3 separate regions of the Homo sapiens genome follow, and regions 1 and 3 are each linked to region 2. The links are contacts of gene promoters, found by promoter capture Hi-C in blood cells and fetal thymus (Javierre and others, 2016). All regions are on one chromosome and are shown on one strand. Each heading gives the region's core, a stretch centred on a gene start or on the middle of the fragment in contact. The rest is flanking DNA. Distances are from core to core; before and after follow the strand shown.

Region 1 (4,442 bases), core at 1,268-3,767, 2.3 Mb after region 2:
CTATTTATCATTCAGTGGTCTAGGTACCCAACTCTAGAGGAAAGCTTTTCTGAAATACACGGTAAGTATCCCCCAACCCTCCCTCAAAGGAACCAATTATGAACACTATACAGTCTTCTCTCCCTTCTCACTCCCCATGTCAAAGTTCATTGTGTTCCTCCTGCAGCTGATTTAAAAGTTGATCTTTTCAAGGAGCTGGATTCCTAAGGTAGTTCTATTTTGAGCCTTCTTCCTGTTCTGAAGCTAAAGTTGGAAGGGCTTAGGTGGTGATGTCATGGAAGGGAGACTGTTGGTTTTTATAGGAGGGTCTTCTCTGGCAACTCTGGGGATGCTCAAATGGGGAAAACTCAGAGTGTTACTTTTGATCTTTTCCCCCCTCCTTCCCTTTATAGAATATCAGCTATTCCTTAGCCAGCAAGAAAACAAGTTCAAATAAGCCTGCAAACAGATTTACATATTTTACATGCTAAACATCTAATAAATGAAAAGACTGAGAAAAAGAAAAATGCCTCACTGTAAGGAACAGAGGGTGACAACCTCTTTCTCCACCCCTCTCCCCAAATATCTATCACAGAACAAGGGGCAAAGAGGAGGGGAGGGTCGACTGGTAAGCAGAATAAAGGGATTATAAAGCTAGGAGGCTTTTAGAGGGAAACGCTGTTGGAATATTCAGGACAGGAGACCCTTGGGTCCCTGCTCTTCCTCTGTGTTTTCCTCCCTTTTGGAATGGTTAGACTTGGGCTGGGTGTGTCTTCTGCTTGGGAGGCGTTTTTTTTGGCGCTGGAAAAGCAAAAGGGGCCAGGGTGGGGCCTGGGGAAAGAAAGCCAGAGACAGGCTGCTTAGGCCTGGCTCTGGGTTAAGCTTAAGGGGAAAATAAAGGGGGCTACGGAGGGACAGCAGATTCCATTAGAAGACCCAGAGGGGAATAAAAAACAGCGCACTGGCCAAAGGGGGTCACTTCTCTCTCTCCCTCAACCTAGGCCCAGGAGCTATTTGCTGGTTGGTGGGGGACAGGTCCAGAGGGAAGAGAAAATCCCAAAACATCTGCAGATCACAACTTGCCGGGGGAAAGGGGGGCTGGGGACAGACATGCCAAATTAAATCAGCAGGTGAAAGCAGCAATTTTTGGCCAATGCTGGGATTGCGGAGAGGACTAACTAAGAACCCTGGAGAGCAGGGGATTCCCTGGTTTCTCAGCTCACCTCTCCTTCAAAGCAGGGATAAGCACAGGTGTGGTCTTTCTCCAGGAAGGTGGCAGCTGGCGTGCGGGTAGCAGAGTGAGGGAAAGAATTCCTCGCACAGGAAGGCAGGGAGAAGCCCTGGGGTCAGCTGCGGCCAGGAGCCGGCGTCTCCGCCAAGTCCCCTCCCCCTTCCTGAAAACCGACCTGGACCAGCACAAATTACAGCAAAGCACCCCTCTCCCCAATAATGTTTCTAATAAAAGAAACAGACTCTCATGCCTATATTAAAAAACCACGAGCTCTAGCTGATGGAAATAAACAGGTGAGCCCGGGGAGAAGCGGGAAAACACTGGGAATGGGAGAATGAAGGGGGAGAAGGCGTTCCCGAACGTGCAGAGAAACCGAGGCTTCCCCGCCCTCCCTCCACCCTCCTCCCCTCCGGCCGGGGAGAATCTGCGTGGCAGGGTGCAAGCTAAAAATGCCACTGACGGACCCCTCTTCCCGCCCCGTGCCCGTTCTCCCTCCTACCCCAGACTCCAGCGTCCCGGCCTCGTGGTAGCGCCCGGTCCCCGGCGCCGCGCGGGGCTCGCCCTCTCTCCGGACCGCCGCCGCCGCGGGGACTCCGGTCTTCCTCTCTTCTCCCTCCCTCCTCCTCCTCCTCCGGCACCGCCGCCTCCTCCTCTTAGACTCCTCCCGCCGGATCCTTCATGTAAACAACATCCAGGCTCTATTTACAGTCGCCGCCGGACGGCAAGGGACCCACGCCAGCACCCTGGACGCGGGCGGGGGCGGGGGAAAAGCGAGTGCGCAACATTTACACACACACCCCGCCCCTCCGCGCCGCTCCCCTCCGGGGGCCGAGCCAGGCGCCCGGGGCTCCCCGCGTTGCCACTGACACCCCAGCGAGGGCCGCGCAAAACCGCGGAAATGCCCATGGGCGAGGTCGCCCCGCTACCCCTCGGGAAAAACACACGCACGCGCTAACAACAACAAACCCAGTCCGGCAACACCCTCGCAGTCGGTCCCGGAGTGCGGAGGCCCGGCCCGGCCCGCCCCGCGCCGCCGCCCCCGCGCTCCGCCGCCTACCCCGAGGTGGCGAACTGCGTGCGGTCCCCGGAGGAGGCTGAAGGCAGGCGCTAGGCGCTGGGCAGTGGCGCGCCCTCGGCCCCCGGCGCCGCCTGGCCCGCCCCCAGACCCCAGTGCGGATGCCTAGCGGGCCGAGCCCCACGGCTGCGTGTGCGTGTGCGCCGCGGCCAGCCTCGCCGGAGCCGCTCTGTGCGCCCCACGGCTTCCCGCGTCCCCAGGCCGGCTCCGACGCGCCGCGAGACGGGGCCGGGAGCGCAGCAGCCAGCGCTCCACGGCGGCGCACGGGCGCGCACTCGGACGTCCACACTCTGCGCCCCGAGCCTCGCGCGGCCGCACGCCCCACGCAGCCCGCCTCCCGCGGGCGCTCGGCCCCGCGCGCCCCGCCGCCCCCGCGCCCGGCCGCCGCCCCCACACCCACCTGCGCCCCCGGGGGTCCCGGGCTCCCCTTCCTTTGTTCTTCCCGCTATTTGCATGAGGATTATCTAATGACGCAGCAAGGCTCGCCACAACGTGACCGTCGCCATTTTTCTGTTTTTATTCTATCTCTGCCATGTGATAGATGGCGGGGGGGTTGGAAAAGGGAGAGAGACGGGATTAAAAAAAAAAAAAAAAAAAACTTCCGGGTCTCATGACCGGGAAGGGAGAAAAACAAAAGGGAGACGAGACACAACTCTAAGGGAAGGATGTGTGTGCGTGCGTGTGTGTATGAGAGTGTGTGTACGTGCGCGCGCTCTCCCTCCTCTGCTGGGAGAAAGGAGGCTCCGGCAGCGGACAGGCAGCAGCCATCCTCCCACCCTGGAGACCAGTGGCCCCGGTGGGTCCAGCTCGCACCCTCTGATTGTGGCGGTCGCCCGTCCTGGTCCCCCACGCGCCGCGGAAGCTGGGGGAGCTGTCAGCCTGCTCCCCTCCTCTGGCTGCCTTCACTCGCCTGTCCGCCCCAGAGCTCGCTTTCCCTCCCGGGCGGCTGTACCGTTGTGGGCTACGTTCAGAGAAGTCCCACTATTGCCATGAGCAGGGACATAATAGAGTTTAAAGGCCGCCGTATTTTCTAAGTTTTAAAACAGTTTGCTTCGACGCCGTTGTTTATGACAACCGCGTGGCAACACCAGGCACAATCTAATGTTGGTTCCAATCCTTCCCCTCTTTCTCTACCCCCGCTTTCCCCCTTTTCCCAAAGTGGGGCACAACTTGGTGTGGTCTTCAATGGGGATTGGTTTTGTGGGGATGGACCATTCACTACGGATTGATTGATTTAAGAACCGCTTATTTAAATAAGTGGTGTTCAGGGTCAGAGGATTGTTTCAGAAGACAGTTGCATAGAGCAAGGTGGATTCGTGTTACACTGATCTTATTCACATTCAAAGGGAGTGATAGACATTTCATTCTTTCCGAAGTTCACAGTTGCTGAAAAAAAAATATTTGGGAACTCTGCCACTGTTTTCCGGTGAGATATAGAATTTTGTACTCTTGTTTACTACTGGGTTCCCTTCAGGCACTTTCACTTTTGTTTTTCGTGAGTTTCCTTTCTGGTTTTTTTTTTTTTCCTCTATTTCTTAATTCAGAGCAGAAATGGACTTCATAGTTGAGCAGGGTTCCTGGCTTTTACAGGGAGAGAAACGGAGACTCTGAGTAGTGCTAGGAGTTGCTCTAGGGCACACATTTAATTAGAGCCCAGCTTGGATTGCGCCCTGCTCACCTGTCGTTTCTCTTAGGGGTTGGCTATAAGAGGATGGGGTGGGGACGGGACTCACGGAACATCGCTATGTGCTTATTGTGAATTATTTTTATTAGACTCACAGAGTTGACCACTCTCCCCTTTGTGCATCCACTGTATGGTTTTTACATTTATTTTCTGGTGCCTTTCACAGATCAGCGTACGGCACAGTTGCTGTATCTCCCACTAGGGTAAGCTTTGAGGCCAGGGCCATGCCATACTCATTTTATATCTCCCATATTTAGCACCATGACTAGCAATGAATGAGCAAATGAAGGCCTGAAGAGGATCTTTTCCATAATTCCATCCTAGGAAATTCCTTGCATGTTTCTGGTGAAGGTAGAACACTGGAGATGCTTTTTGATTCTTACACCTCTGCAGACCATTTTTGGCAGTCTTCTTTAGTTACAAAGCCAGGCAAAACATGTTTTGCTTTTCTCAATTTTTTAAATCAACTGCTT
Region 2 (4,238 bases), core at 472-2,971:
CTATGGAATCATGCAAGAAAACTACTTTGCTCACTCTAATAAGTGTGCCATTTGTGATCTTATCATATCCTTTGTTTGTTGTTTTGTTATTTAGCTGTCCAAGTACATGAATAAAAAATAAATAGATCCAGCTACCTGTTTCTGTGAGAATAAAAAAAAATTTAAACCACCAAATCCACTAAAAAATTGAAAAAATTTCAAGTTTAATTTTGAACTTTTCAACTCTTCATTCTTGAAGGTTTTCATTCCCATGTGGTTTCATAGTCCGGTGGCATAGACTTCATATTTTATTTTTAGTTTTTAGTATAATTTCCTATGTAATTCAGAAGCATGTCTGGTAGTCCTTGCTCCAACAAAATCTGCGGTACTGTAAAACGGCATAGGATTACATTTTACAGTAACAGTATTTCTCTTGACATCATTTAGGAGTGAAGATAAAAATTTCCACTTATTTATTTATTTATTTATTTATTTTTACTTTTTTGAGACAGGGTCTTGCTCTGTCGCCCAGGCTGGAGTGCAGAGGCACAATCTTGGCTCACTGAAAACTCCGCCTCCCGAGTTCAAGCGATTCTCCCGCCTCAGCCTCCTGAGTAGTTGGGACTACAGGCGCGCGCCACCGCACCCGGCTAATTTTTTATATTTTTAGTAGAGACGGGATTTCACCATGTTGGCCAGGCTGGTCTGGAACTCCTGGGCTCAAGTGATCCGCCCGCCTCGGCCTCCCAAAATGCTGGGATTACAGGCGTCAGCCGCCGCGCCTGGCCAAAAATTTCCACGTTATAAAAAGCATCTTCGGACCGTCCTTTTTTCTTTCTTTCTTTTTCTTTTCCTTCTTTTTTTTTTTTTTTTCCCCACAAAGCCTCGCTCTGTCGCCCAGGCTGGAGTGCAGTGGCGCGATCTCTGCTCACTGCAACCTTTGCCTCCCGGGTTCAAGCAATTCTCCTGCCTCAGGCTCCCGAGTAGCTGGAATTACAGGCGCCCGCCGCCACGCCCGGCTAATTTTTTAATTTTTTAACAGAGACGGGCTTTCACCATGTTGGCCAGGTTGGTCTCGAACTCCCAACCTCAAGCGATCCACCCGCCTCGGCCTCCCAAAGTGCTGGGATTACAGACGCGAACCACCGCGCCCGACTGTCCTGTGTTTTAATGCTTGAAAATAATCTGAATATGGAAAATGAGTGCACATATCCCTTGATGTTTTATAAATAACCTACAGTCCTAATAATGGCTTGGCTTAGAGTTCCTTCACAACAGGAAAAGAAGGCATCCTGGCTTTTTTTTTTTTTTTTTTTTTAAATCAAAGTGAGGCTTGGGTTGGCTCTATCTTGGTCCTGAGTGCGAGGAAGGAGGGCCGCAATGCATGCTGGATCTTGCAGTTCCTACGCCAGAGGCAAGGGCGTGATGCTGCATGGCCTGCTGGTAGTTGAAGTCCAAGTGCTCGAGAGGAATTTATGGCAGCCGTAATGTGGTTTGTCTATCAGAGAGACAATGCTCACAGACGGATACTTTCTCTTGGTTCTGCGCTTGCTGCATTGGTGGATTAGCGGCTTGGGGTGGCGAACAGGTGGGAAAAAGGGATGGATAAAGTAAGCATAGCAGAGGCCTTTACGCCGCTGCTATCGCTACTGCCAATCGCAAGGCTTTCGTATCCCGGAAGTGGCTGATCTGTTGGATTTGACGCGGAGGCGGTTCCTCTTACTACGGTGGCCGGGGTGCTCAAAGTACCTGTAGCTGCGGCGCTGAGGTCGGAACGTCTGCGTGTGTGCGGGCTGGTTTTGTGGCGGCTGCTGCTAGAGCTGGAGCATTTGCCGGGTTGGTGGCTCCTGCACATTTTTACAGTTCTCCAGTCCTTCTCTTTCGGTGAGGGATCGGCTTGAGGCTAAAGGAGTCAAGAAGTTTGGGACTTAGCGTCTCTGGTCCCCGAATGACTGGGTTTCTTGCGGGGGTCCGCCTTCAGTGAAGACCCTGTGGCCAACCATCTGGGTTCTCTGAGGGTTTTGGCGCCTTCCTTGTCTCTCCTTTCTAGTGTCATTTGTCTTCTAACTCTTCCTCGCTTTGTCCTGGGTTGCAGAGATAAACCGTAAGCCTAACTGTGGGCAGCTGTTCCTCCTTTCCTTGTGGTTTTCTTAGATGTTGCAGGCAAGACTCTTTCCCCTGATCTATCGCATCCATTTGACCCCTCCTCATGCCAGTGCTCTGTCGGCCCTGTTTTTCCTCGTTTAAAAAATAAAAAAAGGGAAATAATAATAATAACTGGATCCCCACTGTCTCTCTGTTCTCATTCCTAGCCTCTTTCTCCCTTTTTGGTGTTTGTTACTGCTTCAAGCCATAACACACTGCCTTGCATATATTAATGCCTTTCCATCTAAATATTAACGTTCATTCACTTCATTTGGTTCCCGCTCACCGTGAACTCTCCCAACCCTACCCACATCTAAGGGCTTTTGAGGTTGGAGGTGTAGAATAAATTCTTACATATGATGACTATATTCATATATGAGAACCTTCAGCGGTCAACTCAGCATCACTGCTTATTGAGTTTATATTTCTTGTGATTTCTTTGGCTTACCTTTTCGTTTTGTATTGGTTATTTACCCACATGGGGCTCACTGCTACCCTATAGTTACAGAAGAATACCTCGTCTTACATCTTTTTATATCCGAATTACTTAGGAGTTTTCTTATGTTTTCCTGCTCGGACCATATGTCCCCGGTGGGTTTTTGGCAATGATTTTGTGTCAGTTGATGGCAGAAAGAGACAAGGGAATGATCTTCTTGCTTGCTTGTGACTTGTAATTAGATTATGAGCCATTGAGAATACCCAGAGGGAGTGGAAAGGCTTTGAAAGGTAAAGTCTATGTATTTTCTGAGTTTCAAATTGATAAAGCTTCTTCTTTGAACAGGAAGAGTTTCTATTTAGTCCAATAATCTGAGGCTATATTGAATTACCAGTTCATTCGCTATAAAATTTTTAGAACCACATGTCAAAAAGTGGCCCATCTAAAGAATTGTATAATTTAGCAAAAAGTCATTAAAAGCCATTTAATTAATGCTCTTTTTCTTTAAAATAGGATTCAAGTATTTGGAAAAATGTATTTATGGTGATTGGTTATGAAGTATTTCTAGATGTTTTGATGGTTCTGGTGAACAGCATCGTATTCTGTTCACTAATGTTTTATAAAAAGGCAGAAATTTTCTGGCTTTCTGGGGAACCACGTAACTCAAATGAGTTTGCAGCTCGTTTTCTATTCCAATTATTGCACTAAAGAGGTTCTTATACTAAGATTATCATTCTTTTTTAAGCTATCAAGTATGATCTATACATGTCAGTAAAATATAAATATTAATACTGGTACAATGTTAAATTGGGATTATTCCTAATTAATGCACAAAATGCTGAAATGGTTTCAGCCATGCTTAAGATTTGGGGCGAAATATATTTCAGAATAAATTTACTCATATAATTTTTTATTGAAAAAAATGATACGGTAGCCATTACTCAATCTTTTAATATTTTTCCTGAGATTTTATTCATTTAGTAGGAATTTAGTGACTACTTACTATTTAACTATTGTCACAAAATCACCAAAACATTTGTTTGTAAGAGTATCCTCTTGTCCTCAGCTCTGCATAGATACTTTTAAAGCATTAGCGCAGTTATTCCAACTAAGCTATTGAGTATTATTTACATTTAACAGATGAAAAAACTGAAGCTTGAAGAATTTAAGGAAATTAATTCAGTTCTTTTCGACTCTTCCCACTGTACAACAGCTGCAAGGATCTGTGCTCTATCCTGAAATATATAAAGAGCGTTAAATCAACATATGCTTACTGAGCAGCTATTCATACCAGACACTCTTCAAGGTGCTGGGGATATAGAGTGAACAAGAAAAGTCCCTGCTCTTAGGGAGCTTATACTCTAGCAGAATGTATGAGATGTAAACTTTCCCTTCAAGAAGCAGAAAATATAGTCAATATGTATTAGATTTTACGGGAGTGTTTTAGAATGTTAAAGGTGAGAAGAGAGATAACTAGGGAATGTTTCATGAAGATGAGATCTAATGTGGAATTTAAATAGTGGTTAGGGATTGGTAGGTAGAAATTAGGACCCTGTCTCAAAAAAAAAAAAAACAAGTGAAAATCTGTGATATAGAATAATTGGTGAGCCTTATAAAGCACTTTATTTTTATTTTTTGGACTATATATAAGTAAAATTGTAATATTTGACATGCATTC
Region 3 (4,389 bases), core at 1,890-4,389, 3.0 Mb before region 2:
TCACTTCATTACCAGTTTGCTAAATCCACTAAGTGTTATATTACCATTTTCTTACTTGATGGTTCCTTTGTGAAATTATCTTGTCTTGGTTTCTGGTTATCTTGTCTGTTGCCTTTTCTTTACCTCTTTAGATGATTTCCAGTGAAGTTTACTGTCTTTTTTTTTTAATTAACTAATTATTTTTGCCTTTGCCAGCAACCGCACTGTTGATCTTACCTCACCTACCCAACTTTCTCCAAACTCACCTCAAGCAACAGTTCTTCAAGCCTATCATGCTGCATTGACTTTCTATTTGTTGAAGAAGCTAAGCTGTTTTAATGCATCAGGGATTTTTTTCCCTCTACCTAGAATATTCTCTTTCTAGTTCTTCCAGTGGTTGGCTGCTTCCGTCATTCAGGTCTTGGGTCAGATGTTGCTTTTCAGGGACTCTTTGTTACAACCATTTCTAAAGTTTGTCTCCCACCCTTATCCCACTGTAACCTGTTAACCTCTTTCTGTCTTATCTATAACACAGTACTTTCTAAAGTAATCCAGTTGGCTTTTGGGATCAGAGCTCTTACATGACCTATTTTCTGCTCTGTCCCTAGGAGAACACTGACAACTATTGCCAATAAGACACCAAATCAAAGTGGTGATAGTAAATATCATTGCCTTGGTTCTCACCTCAGAGACTAGTGTTTCACCATTAAGTGTGATATAGCTTAGTTTTTTATAAATACTTGGGAGTGAATTTTTAACTGGGTCATAGAGGATTGTTGGATTTCAGCAAGTAGAAATCAGTGGAAATTAGTTCTCCAGACACAGGGAAGAGACACTAGTAGTAAAACAAATGGTCTCCTTTGGCTATAGATTAAAGGGAGATAGTGGAACACACACATTTGTCATGATAACCCTGGCTCAAAGATAGAAGATTAAAAAAAGTTATGATGGGGCCAAATCATGGAGATAAGACAGTTGGGAATAACTCTTCTTTCAGCGCTAGGAGGAGAATGGAGCCAACATCAACAGAATTAGAGAAGTCATCAAGAAAAGTTAGTTATGTGAAGGAATGCCTCTTGTGGCAATTTTTTAAAAATTGCATTTTATGATTTGGAACTCACCGTCTTAAAATAATTGGCTCTTAGAAATGTTGTACTGCTACTTAGCAGAAAATTCAGGGCAAAAGGGTAAATGTGGGTATCATTTACATGTTGGAGGACATGTATGAGAGTTTGAAGAAATGTTTGTATAAAGATAAATTTAATTCTGCTACTTGGTTCTGTGACATTGGAAATTTGTTTAATATCTTTGGACCTTACTTTCACCAATAAAATTAGAAGGTTGGACCAAATATATTTAAATGTTTTTCTTGGTTCTTGCATTCTTTGACAGGCAGATGAAGGAAAGAGTAATAATTAATATATGCCTAAATTTAGAAAATTATTAAAACCTCAATTATTTTTATGAAGATCTTAAAACTTAAAGCAATGGTTGTTTTTTTTGTAATGAGCAGCTGGAGGAGGAGAATATGAAAATAAAGTTGATCCAAGATTGAGTTTTTGTTGGCTGTTGGTTGTGAAAACCCCATTTTCCTTGATTTCTGTGACATTTATATTAAAGTAGTTTAGGAACAGCATTTCCACATTTCTGATTATTTGTTTTATTTAGAAATATAGAAGAGAGTAAGGTAATTATTTGCCAGAACACTGTGTTTAGCGGTAGACACCTGTGGAAACCCTGTCTGTCTTTTTTGGGTCACTCACTAAAAAGACTTTAGTTAGAAAGAATACATTTTCTTTTGTCTGCTTTGACCTCACTCGCCCCAATAAGCATTTTTTTTTTTTTTTTTTTTTTTTTTTTTGAGGCGAAGTCTCACTCTGTTGCCTAGGCTATAGTGCAGTGGCATGATCTCGGCTCACTGCAACCTCCACCTCCCGGGTTCAAGGGATTCTCCTGTCTCACCCTCCCTAGTAGCTGGGATTACAGGCATGTGCCACCACACCCGGCTAATTTTTGTATTTTTAGTAGAGACAGGGTTTCACCATGTTGGCCAGGCTGGTCTCGAACTCCTCACCTCAAGTGATCCACCTGCCTCGGCCTCCCAAAGTGCTGGAATTACAGGCATGAGCCACTGCACCCAGCCTCCCCACTAAGCTTTTTAATTAATTCACTCTTCTTGGTTGTAAGCCTTTCAATTGAGTGAAATCAAATTACATTCTGTTTTCTAATTTATTTTGCAGCTATTTTAAGAACTTCTCAGAGACACTCCAATGTCCATGGCAGGAAGGAGGGGAAATTGATTTTAATCTGAACATAGTGGTCATGGAGGTAGTCCCTTAGCATGTGTACCTCTTATTTTGCCTAGTATTCTGTGCCTCTGAAATTGTCCTTTTAAAATCATGAATTGTGTCAATTTTGTAAAAAGTTAATGATGTAACTTCTAAGTTACACATTAAAAGTTAATGTTTAAGTTGGAAGGGCTGAAAAGTGGAAGTCACAGTTTATTTTCCTTTTAAAGATGCCCTAATTCTTGGAGTTTCTCTTCCCTGTACATCCACCCAGTTGCAAAATCCTTCTTATTTTGTATTTTAAATATTCCATTAATTCATCATCTCCTCTCAGTCAATATTATGCTGATTCCCTCTACTCTATTTTTGTCATCAGAGCCATTGCAGGAACCTTCTAACTGGTCTGCCTGACTCAGGCATAAAGCTACTCTGTGTCACTATCTGCTCTCCAAAATATGCCAAAGAATGTTACTCTTCCTTATTACTTTTCAGTGATTTTTCATCACCCAGAGCAGTGGTTCTCCAAAATTGACATATTTAAGAATCAGTTGGAGATTTTCTTATTTAATATGTCTAGAGATTCTGATACATATTGTTTCTAGGCCCTATACTTGGAGAAACCCTGACTCATAGCTAATGTGCTAACAGCTGTTGAGCTTATGCCACATGCCAGGCCCTGATATAGGTATATTTGCTATTTCACTTAATTCCCCAACCATCTTGTGAGGTAGAAACTACTCTACTGTTTCTTATTATGTAGATAATGCCATTAAGTGTAAAATAAGTCCAAGCTTCTTGTCATGGCCCTTTGGAGTCCTGTCTCTTTAACCCTGTTGGTTGTCACCCCTTCCCCAGCCTTCTTTGCACTGCAAATCCAGTGATACTGAACTGCATGTTCCCTAAAAATAATATCTCTTCTCATGTATCTGTACTTTTATCATATTCCTATTTCCTGAAGCTTTTTTTCCTTGACTATTTCTTTACTTAGAAAATATGCTACTCTTCCCTCTAGACCTTCCATTCAGAAATCATCTCCGAGAAGCCTTTCCTAAATACAAACCCTAATTAGATTAGTTGACACCCATTTTTTGCAGAACATTTTGTGCATACTGTAATCATGGGACTTACCATATTGTCTAGAAATGATTTATGTCTCTTCCTCCTCTCCTTAACTTTTGACTGAAGCTTTAAGGGTAGAAACCTGGTGGTTTTCCTTTGTAGCCCCATCATGTGCCACAGTGTCTCACATAGCGTAGGAGCTTAGTAAAGTGTCTCTGTGTGTTTTGAAAATAACTGGCTAGGTTTAGTTTGCTGGTATCATTCATCTGTGTTGTGTTAGATAATGGAGGTCTGAATCTCCAGTTGCCAACTCTGAAAATGCACAGAACCATTAAAAGTGAATTATGGCGGGAGAGAATTTTATTGGATTAAGATAGTTAAATGGTAAACTAAGAAATTATTAGTGAACAGTGAAATGGGTGAGTATGTGTGGGAAAAGAGAATCATAGTATATTTAACTTAAGGTGTTTATAGGTTGAGATTACCTTTCTAGAAAGTTTATGATCCATTTTAGCTCTGATGTAATTTGCTTTCTAAATTTTTTTCTATCTCATATTTGCTTATTGTAAAAAGAGGTTATTATTCCGCTTCTCTTCAATATATACATGAATATTTAACAGATATATGTGAAAAGTTAGTATACCTAAAGCCAAAATAGATAGAAACAACTTGACGTGATAGATAGGGCTTGATTCTTCAAGACGTAAGGCCAATTTTTAGATAGGAAACAGAAGTCCTGTCTTATTTCAGAGCTCATGGATAAACTGTAAGTAGGTTTAGACTTGACATTTCTAGCCTTTGTTTTTCTATCAAATGATATGAGTGAAATTTTAAGTTGCAAATGTTGGGTTATCTTTAAGTTCTTTTTCTGATGTTCTGCTAAATATAGACAAAACACAAGACTAGAGTTATATACCTGGTTTTGTATTATTCCAAATTATGTATTACTTATGCATGGCATCAATATGTTCTAATGTCCTAGGCATGATTTTGTGAAATGTTTAGTTTATTTTTATAAAGTTACACAGCCATAGAGACATATTAGCATAGTTCCATTTGTTTG

Evidence for each region. Contacts are between HindIII fragments. The CHiCAGO score rates a contact against its expected background, and 5 or more counts as called.
Region 1: a contact is called between a fragment that was not itself captured here and the fragment with the promoter of ATG4C in region 2, in 1 of 17 cell types (fetal thymus). The highest score is 6.6, in fetal thymus.
Region 3: a contact is called between a fragment that was not itself captured here and the fragment with the promoter of ATG4C in region 2, in 1 of 17 cell types (non-activated CD4 T cells). The highest score is 7.4, in non-activated CD4 T cells.

Annotation. Positions count from the first base shown.
Region 1 is chr1:65,064,919-65,069,360 of GRCh38, forward strand. It overlaps a transcript of JAK1 not described here. Among named protein-coding and RNA genes, the nearest start is that of MIR101-1, 8.6 kb to the left of the region's middle. RefSeq lists a silencer at 1,957-2,556. The HindIII fragment of the contact is 3,316 bases long and covers 860-4,175 here.
Region 2 is chr1:62,782,411-62,786,648 of GRCh38, forward strand. It overlaps ATG4C (autophagy related 4C cysteine peptidase), which reads left to right and starts at 1,722. Exons shown (of 11, transcript NM_032852.4): 1 at 1,722-1,863. RefSeq lists enhancers at 1,423-1,472, 1,573-1,632, 1,753-1,932 and a silencer at 1,908-2,202. The HindIII fragment of the contact is 3,523 bases long and covers 1-2,887 here.
Region 3 is chr1:59,817,328-59,821,716 of GRCh38, forward strand. All of the region lies in intron 1 of HOOK1 (hook microtubule tethering protein 1), which reads left to right. Among named protein-coding and RNA genes, the nearest start is that of HOOK1, 4.6 kb to the left of the region's middle. The HindIII fragment of the contact is 167 bases long and covers 3,057-3,223 here.